3 separate regions of the Homo sapiens genome follow, and all the other regions are linked to region 1. Evidence: promoter capture Hi-C in 16 types of primary human blood cells and fetal thymus (Javierre and others, 2016). All regions are on one chromosome and are shown on one strand. Each heading gives the region's core, a stretch centred on a gene start or on the middle of the fragment in contact. The rest is flanking DNA. Distances are from core to core; before and after follow the strand shown. Region 1 holds the start of LRIT2 (leucine rich repeat, Ig-like and transmembrane domains 2). Region 2 holds the start of CERNA2 (competing endogenous lncRNA 2 for microRNA let-7b). Region 3 has its middle 9.1 kb from the start of LINC00858.

What was found. The method cuts DNA at HindIII sites, captures the fragments that hold promoters and counts their contacts. A CHiCAGO score of 5 or more calls a contact.
Region 2: the fragment with the promoter of CERNA2 here is called in contact with the fragment with the promoter of LRIT2 in region 1 in 1 of 17 cell types (neutrophils); the score reaches 5.9 in neutrophils.
Region 3: a contact is called between a fragment that was not itself captured here and the fragment with the promoter of LRIT2 in region 1, in 1 of 17 cell types (neutrophils). The highest score is 5.3, in neutrophils.

What each region holds. Positions count from the first base shown.
Region 1 is chr10:84,222,942-84,227,248 of GRCh38, forward strand. It overlaps LRIT2 (leucine rich repeat, Ig-like and transmembrane domains 2), which reads right to left and starts at 2,603. Exons shown (of 3, transcript NM_001017924.5): 1 at 2,470-2,603; 2 at 1,392-2,173. The coding sequence starts at 2,579. The HindIII fragment of the contact is 7,130 bases long and covers 1-4,307 here.
Region 2 is chr10:84,169,019-84,173,325 of GRCh38, forward strand. It overlaps CERNA2 (competing endogenous lncRNA 2 for microRNA let-7b), which reads right to left and starts at 3,058. Exons shown (of 2, transcript NR_134505.1): 1 at 2,704-3,058. RefSeq lists enhancers at 2,377-2,878, 2,793-2,842, 3,193-3,432, 4,253-4,302. The HindIII fragment of the contact is 12,565 bases long and covers 299-4,307 here.
Region 3 is chr10:84,268,703-84,273,009 of GRCh38, forward strand. No RefSeq gene overlaps it. Among named protein-coding and RNA genes, the nearest start is that of LINC00858, 9.1 kb to the right of the region's middle. RefSeq lists an enhancer at 514-1,713. The HindIII fragment of the contact is 3,944 bases long and covers 1-3,849 here.

The DNA of each region.
Region 1 (4,307 bases), core at 1,353-3,852:
GAAGCAACAATTGATATGGGACCTGGCTCTTCAATCTATGAAGACCATACTCTTTCAACTTCACTAACTGCACCCACCAAACCACCTTCGCCTTGCTGAGCCATGGCTTTCAGGAGAGTTCTTGCAACTATGTGATTGTACGATATTATGAGCTTCAGGAAGTGCCTTCTTACCTTCCAGATGCACAGTTCCTCAGAGCCTGGAGCCACATGCCTGGGCTGCTATCCCTAATGGAGCTCCTATCCAGTGTGGTACTGGGCAAGTTGCTTAAATTCTCTTGACAATTTTCTTGTCAATAAAATGGGATGATAAGCAATCACCTACCTCATTAGTTTGAAAGTAAGTGTTCAATGCTTATATTTTTACTGAGAGATTATATAACACGTTGCCAAACAGTGATTATAGAACACCACGAAAGACAACACCTGTATGCATTTCTTGGTTTTCAAAGAGGCTACAACAATAAATCCTATAATTTTCTTTCATTGATATTGAATGCCAAACCAATAAGGTATTATCAAAACAATACAGAATGTGAAAATTCAGTTAATTGGGTATTTTTAAACCATCCAGAGTTTTGTCATAATGTATAACAAATACCTGGGCAAATGACTATATTTCCCAAGTTTTACCCAGCTATTCCTAGTTGTCTTCTAGACAGAGAACAGAAGACAGGACACGAGGAATGTACGAAGATTTTTCTTTTCAGCTTTGGGATACCCCCAGGGAGGCCATCCCCGGCTTTGTGATATGCCCAACCCTACAGAGTAGCATTAAAGGTAATCCCAGCTGAGGTATGAAAACAGAGCAGAGGGTTCCAGGAAGGAAGAGGCAGGTTTGAATTCCAGCCCCAGGGCCCACAGAGGTCACTTCCTTTCCCTGGGTCCCAGTATTACAAATTCAAGCCAATAAGGTCTGAACAATTTTATGTCAGTGTTATTTCAAACAAGCACCCCAGGTGATTCTGCTCAGGCAAGTTAAGGAAATAACTAATAGATCATCTCTAAAATCAATCCTAGTAAAAAATTCTAGAATTCTAAAATACATAGTCCAGTGTTTTGCATCTAGAAGATTCCCAAAGACTATATCTGCTCATATAAAATTTTATAATATTTGCATAAGATATTAAATTAGCCCTGAAATATGTGTTTATATATGTGTATATGTTCTGTATGCAAAGAGATCTGTATGCAAACATTTAAAATAATGCCAATAGTGGAACACTACCTTGAAATCTTTTCTGTTCTAGTGAGCATAATTCAGGGCTATCCCAATCTTACTTGCACCCACCCTTCGTGACTGACCCAGCTTTGAATCTCTCTAATGAGGATGGGTTTGCTACAGACCTCTCCATTCCCTCCAGATACACTGAGAGGGTGCATGTGGCTTACCATCAAATTCTCTCCACATACTCAGGGGATAAGTCCATGCAATGGATGGTGAGGGGCTGGCCTGTGCCAAGCATCGCAGGGTCACATTCTGTCCTGCCCGGATGGTGATATTGGCACTGGGGGTTGAGATCTGTGGCTTCATGCAAGCACTAAGCTCAGTTTCATGAAAAAGCTGCCCTGCCTTGGACAGAGGGCCCTGACATATCAGGTAGGAATTCACCAGGATGACTGGGAGGGTAATGGACTTGACAAACTGGACAAGCCCCCTTAGGCGACAGTCACATACCCAGGGGTTGTCATGCAGGGCCACCACCAGGCTGGAGAGAATCTCAGCCCCACAGTCAGGCTGCCGGCATTTCTGGTAGGCTGGCCAGTTCAGGAAGACACTCTTGGATACAACTGTAAGCCTATTGGAGGATAGGTCAAGGTAGGTCAGGCTGACCAAGAATTGAAGAGCCAGCTCAGGGAGTGCATCAATCTTGTTGCGTTTGAGATCCAAGACCCTCAGGAGAGGGGTGGCACGGAACGCTGTCCATGGTACTGAGCAGAGCTTGTTCCCCTCCAGTCTCAGCTCCCTCAGTTCTGGCAGGTGTTCCAGGGCTCCTAGGTGGATCACACTGATATTGTTAAAATTGAGCCAGAGGTATTCCAAGGTGCTCATGTTGATGAAAGACCCTTGGGGCATCTCAAATAAGGGTGAATTTTCAATTCTCACTTGCTTGAACTCTTCAGAAAGGTTCCCAGGGATCTTTCCCAAGGAGACAGATGTGCACTGCAGAGTCCTGTACAAGAAACCAGAACAGCTTTAAGATAAACAACAGGGGACTGAAAAGTGGGGTCAGGCTGATCCTGGCATTAGACATGTGAATCAGAATAAAAATATTATTATTCATTGAAATAAAAGAGTTAGACTCATTTTGGTAAAAATGCACAGTTCAGCAAAGTTCAGTCCCAACTAGAATGAGTCTCATAGAGTTTTGCTGATTTCCTGCCAATTCTAAGCCTGCTTCCACTCCACATCATCCCCAAAGAAAACCCATTCCCCATAACCCTCTAACATCTGGCCAGCAGAGCGCACCTGCCAAAACTCTCCTCTGAGCAAGTGCATCCTGGCAGACAGAAAGGCTGAGCTGCGTGTGTATCCAGAAAGACCAGAACTAACAGGAAGTAATGAAAAACTGAAGCCATATTTCTCTGTAAGAAAATACGTTGTGAGTTTTGAATAAGTATCGCCCCAGCTTCCGAGTGGCAAATCCTATTATTGGTAATCCATGATGATGTAAGTCACACAGCAGCAGGAAAGCCCATGGGAGCTCTGAGGTCTGTTACAGCCCAGACCACAAGTTCAGTCAGAACACACGAAGGGGGATCAATGTCTCTTAACTAGGGTCAGGAAATTCAACATTTGTGTAATTCTTGAGTCTGAAAAGCAAACTCCAAGTCAGATGTCCAATTCCATACAGATTCTACATTTCTTAGAGTCTTAAACAGAAGTCTGAGAAACAAGCAGGCAGTGCTATTCTGAGCACCACTGTTCAGGGGATGTGGCCAGAATCCATCTAATGCTTCATCATTTGCAGTTGATTCCTGAAACCTAGAATTTCCAATCATTTTCTCAAAGTGAAAATAGGTGATGAGTAACAAAGTAATTCTGTGTTCATTCCTATCATTTGTTCTCTTCCCAACACCACGGGTGGTGTAGTCATGCTCCTACTGCATCAAGACAGCTGCTTCTGCAGCTTGGGTCACCAGTTTCAAATACAAGATGGTATTTTCTGATTAAACCAAAAGATTGTTTTCTTGGACTTCACAACCTTTCCTTAATACTGTGCATTTCACTTCATCAAAATGGGCAACCTACATTTTAAAAAGAGATGTATACAATTTTATATGCTTGCTCTTTCACTCTTCATTTATTCCACAAATATTTACTGGTCATTTGCTTTAAGCTATACTCTTGCCCAATGAAAGGAACAGGGTCAAGGGCAAACCTATTATAGACCCTGTCCCAAGGAGTCTTCTCTCTTGTTTGTGCTTCTGAATCTTGAGATCTTTGGAATGTAATTTAATCTCTGTGAGTCTTTTCTGTATCATGAGAATATTAACAAATACCTCATAGTGTTTCCAGGAATTTATTTCTCATTATTTTTTAATTTTTGTATTTTTTCAGAGACAGGGTCTCACTCTGTTGCCCAGGCTGGTCTCAAACTTCTCAGCCTCCCAAGTAACTGGGATTACAGGTGCAAGCCATTGCATCCAGCCATATTTTTAGAAAAGTTTGAGATTATGTTAAATACAACACCTAGCACACAGTTGGTGCCCATTAATCCTCCTCCCACTGACAAACTCTTTAAGATCCGAAAAGTCTACATCTCTATTAACTAGGGCACTTCCAGTTGAATATTGAAATTCCATGAGTTCCTTTAAGACTCATGATATACATTGTACCCTACAAAAGGCCTCAGGAAAGAAAATCCGCTTAGCTAACCAGTGAGGGGGGAAATGGGTCACCAGCTAAGCTGATTACACTCCAGGCTTTCCATCCAAGCCAGAAATATTTGCAGGAGTTTCCAAACAGTCTAACTCTAAAACCTGGGGGGACCACTGTGTTTGTCTAAAGGTAAAAATCCAAAACAAAGAGAGAGCTATCGGCACAAAGTTTGTCATACATATGGCTATGTGCTTCCTAGATCCCCCTTCAAGGTATAAGTGGATGCTCAGCTGCAAGGAGTGCTTGCATGAGGTCACGTCCTTCCCAAAGCAGCCACATCCCACATTCAGTGACTGAGGGTGGTGAGGGCCTGGCCAGTTTGCCCTGATGGGGGAAAACTCTGATGAGCAATTATCACTCCAGAGTCCCCTACCAGCTTTGCTAAGGCTTTGTCAGGCTTGTTTCATGGAAATATGTGATTTAAT
Region 2 (4,307 bases), core at 1,808-4,307, 53 kb before region 1:
GGGGCCAGCCTTTGGAAACCCCATCAGTTGTTTTGAGAGATAGGCCACTGGCCTTGGCCAGGGCCCTACAGTCTGGGTTAAAACTCCAACTATCATTTTTTCTCTTTCTGACACATAGAGTGTAAAGAGTTTCATCAGGTCAGGTAGCCTCAGGGCTGGGGCCAACACAATTTTTTCTTTTAAATTCATGAAAAGCTCATTGCTGTTGGTTGTAATAGATGTAGTTTATCTAATCTGCATTTTTATTGACTGTCATCTACCAAGATATTGATTTAAATCTTGTAACTATTTGATTTCAAGCTTTAAATTGATCTGGTATTCCTTGCGGGGCTTCAATTGCATCTAAATAGATGTGAGAGTTGAAAGACCTATAAGGGGCTTCTCTCACTTTATGATTTTTATTTTATTTTATTTTTTTCTTCCTCTGGTTGATGAAGTGCCAGGGTAAAAGGGATAGCCAAATGGACTAAAGCACAAGTGCCACTCTAGTTATTCAGCAGAGTGCCCAGTAAAGGTCCACCACAATACCACCACACATCCACTCGGGGATGAACAAGGGCTGACTGATTGATAAGCTCTTGAAAATTCTTAAGCTCACTGCATCCCTTCAGGTCTCCAAGGAATGCTAAGTCTCCTCCCTGCCACGAGAGACAAGAAGTGAACTTAGCGTTGGGAGACAGAAGCTGGATGGCCTTCGGGGGCTGACCCTCAGGGACTTCAGGATATAGCAGAGAGAGCTTGGCATGACTTATTACTCCAGGCTGTAGAATCCTGGAAAACAGCTACCATGCAGCCCACGCCTGGTCGACTGGAGGACCACCTTAGTGGAAGGGGGACAATCAGGGCCTCTGGCCTGCCATGTGCACAAGCATAACAATTGCTTTTGTTTAATGTGCAGATGGAATATTTGATCCATTTCAACCAGGCATTTGCATCTTGGTATGCTGTCTTAATTTCCAAAGTTTGTTTTAAGTCTTTAACTTCTATGATCCTCTAGTAAAAGGAATGTTTCCTTTAGTACCTATTTTTATTAGTTTTTAGACCAAAGAAAGTTAAACACCATTTTATATTTAATAATGCTTCTTGTATGATTTTTATACCAGATAAGCTAAATTTTACCTTTATATTAGTGTGTTATTAATGTTAAACTTAATTTTAATAAAACCTTGTAGATATATTTATCCAATTTTTCATGTTTGACCATAAGGTGAGATTTTATAGACTCTTTTTAACCTTTTATAATTTTTGTTAAAGAGCAGGTTGATGCTTTAAGAAAAACCTGTTGCATTTTTACTTTAATGTCCAGTTCACAGAAAAGCTGGATGATACCTTTTTAACTTTAGCTAATATGTTTATACACAGAATTTTCTTTACAATTAAAGTTTTAAAACTTGCTTAAACTTTCAAAACAATAATTTTTTAACCTTTTAATGTTGGTAAAAATCCACATTCTTATGCCTCCTTATAATCTTTTTACCAAAGGTATATTTTACTATTTTTATACACCTTGCACATAAACTGTTTCTTCAATAGTAGTACTCAGGAGGCTTTTTTGCATAAATTTTTTTATAACATTTTTTCTTTCACAACTTTCGCCGACAATTCTTCAACATGCCTCAACTTTCTGACTTATTACAAACATTTTTTTTCTTTAAACAACCAGTTAATTTATTTCAGGACAAGAATTTACCATATAACACTCTTTTTACATAAATTCTGCCTCCCCCCCGCTTTTTTTTTTGAAGATAACCATTCCTTTTTTTAAAGCGAACTTTCTTTATGTCTTTGGACTAGACTCTCTAAGGCCACAAGATTAGAAGTTACCACAATATATGTTATGCTGTTAACTTTTAGCAAACTTCACTTTTGTTGAAAACCTTGTAAGTTTGGGATTTCAATTATCCTTTGCTATTAATAAGACCTTGTTTAGTCTAAATTAACTTAGAATTGGTATAGATGGCCTCTTTTTTTTTTTTCTCTGCTGGTCTTTCCTTGCCTCTCCCAACTGCTTATGCTGCTGTTCTTTTAACTACTGTGGAGGGGAAGGGGGTCTAAAACCAGCTGTAACTGTCTATGTATGGAAACTGGTCTGGGTGCCTTGGCTTACAGGTTGCCCTGTGTCATACCGTTGAAACAAGGGACCTGTCCAGGCTTCTTTCTGATGACCAACCCACTCTAATGCTGGCCAGTCTATTTCACACAAAGTTCTAAGTTTTCCTGGTGTCACAGTAACATCGTAATCTCCCTTAAATTCTTTCTTGAAATTTTTATTTTTTTTAACATAGTTCCTAGTGGGGTGGGCTTATTTTTGCCTGACCCATGCTTCTTCAAGACAAAACACCATGTTCACACCACACACACACCACAAAACAAAAAACAGGTAAAAAGGGCACACACACACTTTTGCAGTTTACACCAAACCAAAATCAGAGTATCCAGAAATCCAAGCCAGGTCAAAACTAAAACCAAAGTATCACACAATCTAAGTCAAGTCAAAACCAGAACAAAAGTGTCAATGCAGGCATGCCGTGGGTGATCAGGCCATGTTTCCACCCAGATGGAGTAGGGCAAGTTCCAAAGACTAGTCTTACCAACTCAAGCCAAGTCAAAACCAGAACAAAATGCCAATACAGGCACACTGTGGGTGATCAGGCCACGCTTCCACTCAGATGGAGTGGGGCAAGTTCCAAAGACTAGTCTTACCAAGTTGTAGATGTCCGGACTCCAAGTGCCAGTTCCTTCCTGGTGTTCAGCCACTGTGTTAATCTTCCGTGGGGGCCTGCTACACGCTGCTCTGGCAAGGCGTTCCATTGGGGCAATTGCCTACCCGGGAGCGCTCTTTGGATCACGTCACTCAGGCTGGCCGGAGTTCCCCTCACGGATGCTCCACAGGGCAGGCCTAAGCCGCCTAAGGGGCTGCCTCGGCCATCCGTCAGTCACCTCGTTTCCCAGTCAGGGAACCAAGAAATGTAGCAGGGTGAGCCGCAGACAAAACCTCTCAGACACTGAGTTGTAGAAGGCAGGGCTTTATTCAGCTGGGAGCATCGGCAAGCTACTGCCTTCAAATCTGAGCTCCCTGAATACACAATTTCTGTTCCTTTTAAGGGCTCACAACACTAAAGATTTCACATGAAAGGGTCGTGATTGATTTGAGCAAGCAGGCGGTACGTGACAGGGGCTGCATGCACCGGTGGTCAGAGAGAAACAGAACAGGGCAGGGAGTTTCACAATGTTCTTCTATACAATGTCTGGAATCTATGAATAACATTGGTTTTTAAGTTATGAGTTGATTTTTAACTACTGGGTTTAGTCCAGGCAGGCCCAGGCCTGGTTTCAGGCCTGGCGCCGGGCTGCCTGTCTTTGGTTTTACTTCCTTGTTTTTTCTTAAAAGAGGTACTGAGTATAAAACAATATAAAACAATATGAGAGGGTATCTCTCTTCCCTCAGTTTGGGAGTGGAGGTTTGAGAGCAGCCCAGGCAGAGGCTCATCAGGGTGCATGGGAAACATCCTAATTTCTTCCGAAAAATATTCCTCCTACCCACCACCTCTCATAGGCCCAGGGGCTCTGAACCCTCTGACACCATCTGAGGCCAGAGCCTAGCAAGTGTTCAGGCACCCATGCACCATTATTAAAGGGAACTCAGACCCACTCTGATGGAAAAGGAGCCCAAAGCATTCCTGTCATCAGTCTCTACCCGGCTGAAGGATCCCCCGGCCTCCCTTTTGCCAGTCTGATTCCTCTGCTGGTCCAGGAAGCCCACCATGACCTGGCCTACCATGCCAGGCCATCTCCGACCCAATCTTATTCCATCTCTGCAGAGTGTCCCCTCCCTCCCCCACCTTCTGACTGAGCAACCTACGTCCCCTTCCTTCAGTATAGACAGCACTTACAATGCTGTGAGACAGTCACTTGTCTGCACAGCTTCCTCCACCAACAGGAGCTCCTTGAGGCGAGGCACAGTGTCTTCTGTGTCCCTGGAGCCAAGCGCATGGCTCAGCCCAGGTCACGTGTCCAGTGAATGGGTGGCATCTGAGCCTCCTGCACCTGTGGTCAGACTTTCCCCCATGCCTGCCCTGGGCAGAGGCTCCTCTCTTCCAGGCCTTGTTCAGGGTGACCCTGTACTTGAAGTGTCTTCTCATTTCATCACTGTCTTAAACATCAAAGTCCACCTGTGGCCCCACCTCCTTTAAGAGCTGTGTGAGCACCTTGGTGCAGATGGCTTCTCATACATGCCTCAATACAGGCTTGTGAGAGAGATAGTCCTGTGCCCATTTCACAGATGGGAAGCCGACTCAAAGACATTC
Region 3 (4,307 bases), core at 628-3,127, 45 kb after region 1:
TCTTACGCTAACTTTATTAATAACTCCAAGATGGCTCCTAGAACAATATACGTACATGATTGTGAGTTAGTTCTGTTCACATATAGGAGGAAGCAAGCATCATTCCCAATAACCATAAAATAAAAATCTTGAGTTGGGGCTTGATTCGACCACTTCTAAACAAATCCCTGTTTCCAGGAGAATTAAAATGATAGTTGGCTTAATACTCCCATTAATCCCCAGCTGCCAATGGACTGATTAGCTTAGCTTAGATGGGATTTATTGGAAACCATCACCATAGGTAAGAGGGTGAAATTATTTTAATTTGCTTGTACCAATAAAGGTACGGGTGTAGTCAGACCTACACAAATGACATAGTTGCTGAGTAGTGGGAGAGGGCAGAATGGATGCTGTAGAGAAAATTTCCATTTCCATTTGTAAATGAGGTGAGAATCGAGGACATGGGAGTACATAAGGATGGTACCTAGGGTTTTGGAGGTGCCATATACCAAGATGAGGAAGACAAACCAGGCTTGGGGGAGAATAAATACAGATGCCTCTTAGATACTCAGGTATTTGGATCTAGTGAGCATTTAGGTCTAGTGAGCATCTGGAAATATGAGCAAGAGCTGAAGGGAGTTGTCCTGGGTGTAGTCACATGGCATCATGTAGTCACATGGCAGGTGTGGGACAGAGTGACAAACTTTCAGCCACTTAGCACAGCCTCTCCCTGCCAGCTCGGGAATCAGAAGAAAAACCCTGTGATGAGAAGGTTAGAACTAGTGATTCTCTAAACCAAATAAAGCCATGAGCACCAATATTCTGCTACTAAAGGAATAAATGAAGATCTAAATGAATACATTACAATTACACATCTCTTTCATGTCTTTTGTTTGAGCGATCCTCAGAACAATGAAAGAAAGGTAGCAGGAAGAGAATTTAGAATCCCATTTTTCAGATGAAAAAGCTGAGATGTGCACAGGTTAAGTGGCACCCCAAATCCACCAGAACCTGAGTTTGGAATCCATCCTCTTGATCCTAAATCTAGTCCCCACGCCCTGCAGATCCAAACATCTATGATCAGATAAATCTATTCATGGGGACAATATATCTACAACCAAAGATATTCTATGACTCAAGTCAGCACATGCTAAGAATTTTTCAGATGCTGTGGAAGGTGACTTAACAGGGAGGCAGCAGGTGACATAGAAAGAATCTTGGTCTCCTGGTCAGAACAGACACCCACTTTGGAGTTCCAGCTTTGCTGTTCCCTTCCTGTGTGACTTTGGGTGAATCACTGAATTTTTGTGGGCTGCATTTTCATTTATGATGGGTTGGATTACATCAGTCGTTTTCAAACTTTTTTTAAAAAACTGAAGCAATCCTTAGGTCACTGGTTAAATTCCTGCTGGAAGTAGGTGACTTATGCTTCAGCTGGGCATTGTGGCTCACACCTGTAATCCCAGCACTTTGGGAAGCCGAGCCAGGCAGATCACTTGAGGTCAGGAGTTCAAGACCAGCCTAGCCAACATGATAAAAACCATATCCATTAAAAATACAAAAATTAGCCAGGAATGGTGGCGTGTGCCTGTAATCCCAGCTACTTGGGAGGCTGAGGCAGGAGAATCGCTTGAACCTGGGAGGTGGAGGTTGCAGTGAGCTGAGATTGTGCCACTGCACTACAGCCTGGATGACAGAGCAAGACTTCATCTCCCCCCACCACCGCCCCCACAAAAAAAATAAAAAACCTGAAGCATTTTCTTTGAGAAAAAAACACACACACACACACGAGGAAATATAAATAAATTAAAGAAATCCCAGCATAACTTCTCCTACCAAATGTTTAAGATGGTGAATGGGGATAAGCCTCCTCCCCCATGACTACCACCTTAGAAATCTGCAATCCACTCTGCTTTGCTTTCTAGGAGTCTGTGGGTTGCATCTCTTTTTAGGTAAGTTCTGAGATTGCCTGCCTTCCCCCAGTTCTAATGCCCCAACCACTCCAGGAAAATGGCCTCATAGTCCCTCTCTTCACCCCTGGCCAGTGCCACAGACAGCAGGTGTTGTTCTCTGTTCACAGTGATGTTAGTGCATGAGCCCAATGGATAGAGTACCTTGTTGTTCAGCCTACCTGGGTTTAAAGAAGGCCTTTGTGGAAGCTCAAGCATTAGAAAGCTACAGATAACATTGTTTATCAGTTGCTGTTAGCAGGTGTATTTGCCAACTCTTCTCAAGTTAAACAGGAAGTGATTAAAGGACTCCTTGAAGTTAGGAAGGTAAGAAGAATAAACACTCGTAATTATGAAACAGCAGAGTCTAACCCTTTATTATGGGCTTTCCATGTGTCAACATATCCAAGCCTCTGAACAATACTAAGATTACAATATTATGATCTTAAGTTTTATTATCTGCATTGCCTATGTGAGAAAACTGAGGCTAAATTTATGAAAATCTAGAAGAAAACACAGGCATAAATATTAACAGCCTTGGATTAGTCAGTGGTTGCTTACATACAGTAGCAAAAGCACAAGCCAAACAATAATAAAAATGGCTAAACTGGACTTTTCCAAAATTAAGAACATTTGTGCTTCAAAAAATGCACAAGAACATGAAAATACAGCCCACAGACTGGGGGAAACATTTGTAAATTATATATCTTATAAGTCACTAATATTCAGAATATATTTTAAAACTCTTATAGTTCAATAGTAAAAGGACAAATAACCAATATTTTAATGGCCAAAGCATTTGTATAGATATTTCTCCAAAGAGTTACACAAGTGGCCAATAAGCCCATGAAAAATGCTCAACTTCGTTAGTTATTAGAGAAATGCAAATCAAAACCATAATGAGATGTCATTTCATATCTATTAGAATGGCTGAAATCAAAAAGGTCAATAATAACAAGTGTTGGCAAGGATGTAAAGGCACTGGAAACTTTATACATTGCTAGTACGAATGTTAAATGGTACAGCATTTTGGAAAACAATTTGGAAGTTCCTCAAAAAGTTAAAAATACAGTTATCATGTCCTCAGCAATTCTACTTCCAGGTACATGCCCAAGATAATTGAAAACATACTTCTACACAAAATCTTATATACTAGTATTCATAGCAACATTATTTACAATAGACAAAATGTGGAAACAACCTAAATGTCAGTCAACTGATGAATGGATAAGTAAAATGTAATTTATCCATAAGAGGAAATATTATTCAGTCATAAAAATGAAGTATTGATGCATGCTACAATATGAACAAACATTGAAACAAGCCAGACCCAAAAGATCACATGTTGAATTATTTCATTTATACAAACTGTCCAGAATAGGAAAATGTATAGAGACAGCAAGTAAGTTAGTGGTTGCCAGGGGCTGGGAGAACAGGAGTTTGAGAGGTGATTGCTACTAGGTATGAGGCTTATTTTGGGGATATTGAAAACATTCTGAAATTAAATAGTGGTGATGATTTTATAACTTTTTGAATATACTGAAAACCACTAAATTGTACATTTTAAAAGAATGAATTCTATGGTGTATAAATTATATCTTAATAAAAATTAATAATTAATTAATTTAGTGAATTAATGGAAAGTGCAATGGGAACTCAGAAAAGATGAAACTCAAAAGTAGCAGGAGGGATCCAGAAAGGCTTCCCTGAGGAAGTGACACAAGTTCTCCCCTTCTTAACTCTCAAGGCCCTGAAGCATAGTACATGCACAATTATTTTCAAAACTAATGTCTCAGCAGAGTAGAAAGGTCCTACTTCACATCCTGATACTCCTTCCCAGTGCCTTCCTCTCCTCTATACAGGCTTTACGTAATAATCACAAAATCCCCCAGCCCCATCTGTTCACCTGTTTTTCAGTAGAAGCTTCTTCTACACCTAAATACATTTTTAATTGTCATTTTTAAATCAATTTCTAACAGACTTTTTGCAAAAAATTCTCATATTTTCCCCATGTTCAAGTTTGGAGCTGGGTGGGAAAGGTTGCTTATAGGGATGTAAAGGAAGGGGGCTACTAGAGACTGAATGTCAGGGTGTAAAGGGCATTATTCCGTGACTTGTAGCATGGAAGCATGGTGACGAAGCACTATGCTTCAGCATAACACAGCCACAGAAGCAATGCTGGTAAGGATGTCATGTCCCAATGCCAGGATCCATTAGGAGTGTATTGATCTGAATAGGAGACAGAAGACAGAAACAATCCACTGGCAGTGGTGGAAGCCTCCAGGCGGATGGATGAAGGACAGATTTGGAAATGGGCAGTGCTGGGAGGAACGGAATCGTAACTCAAGGTCCTGAAGCAGAGAATGTTCACATTTAGAA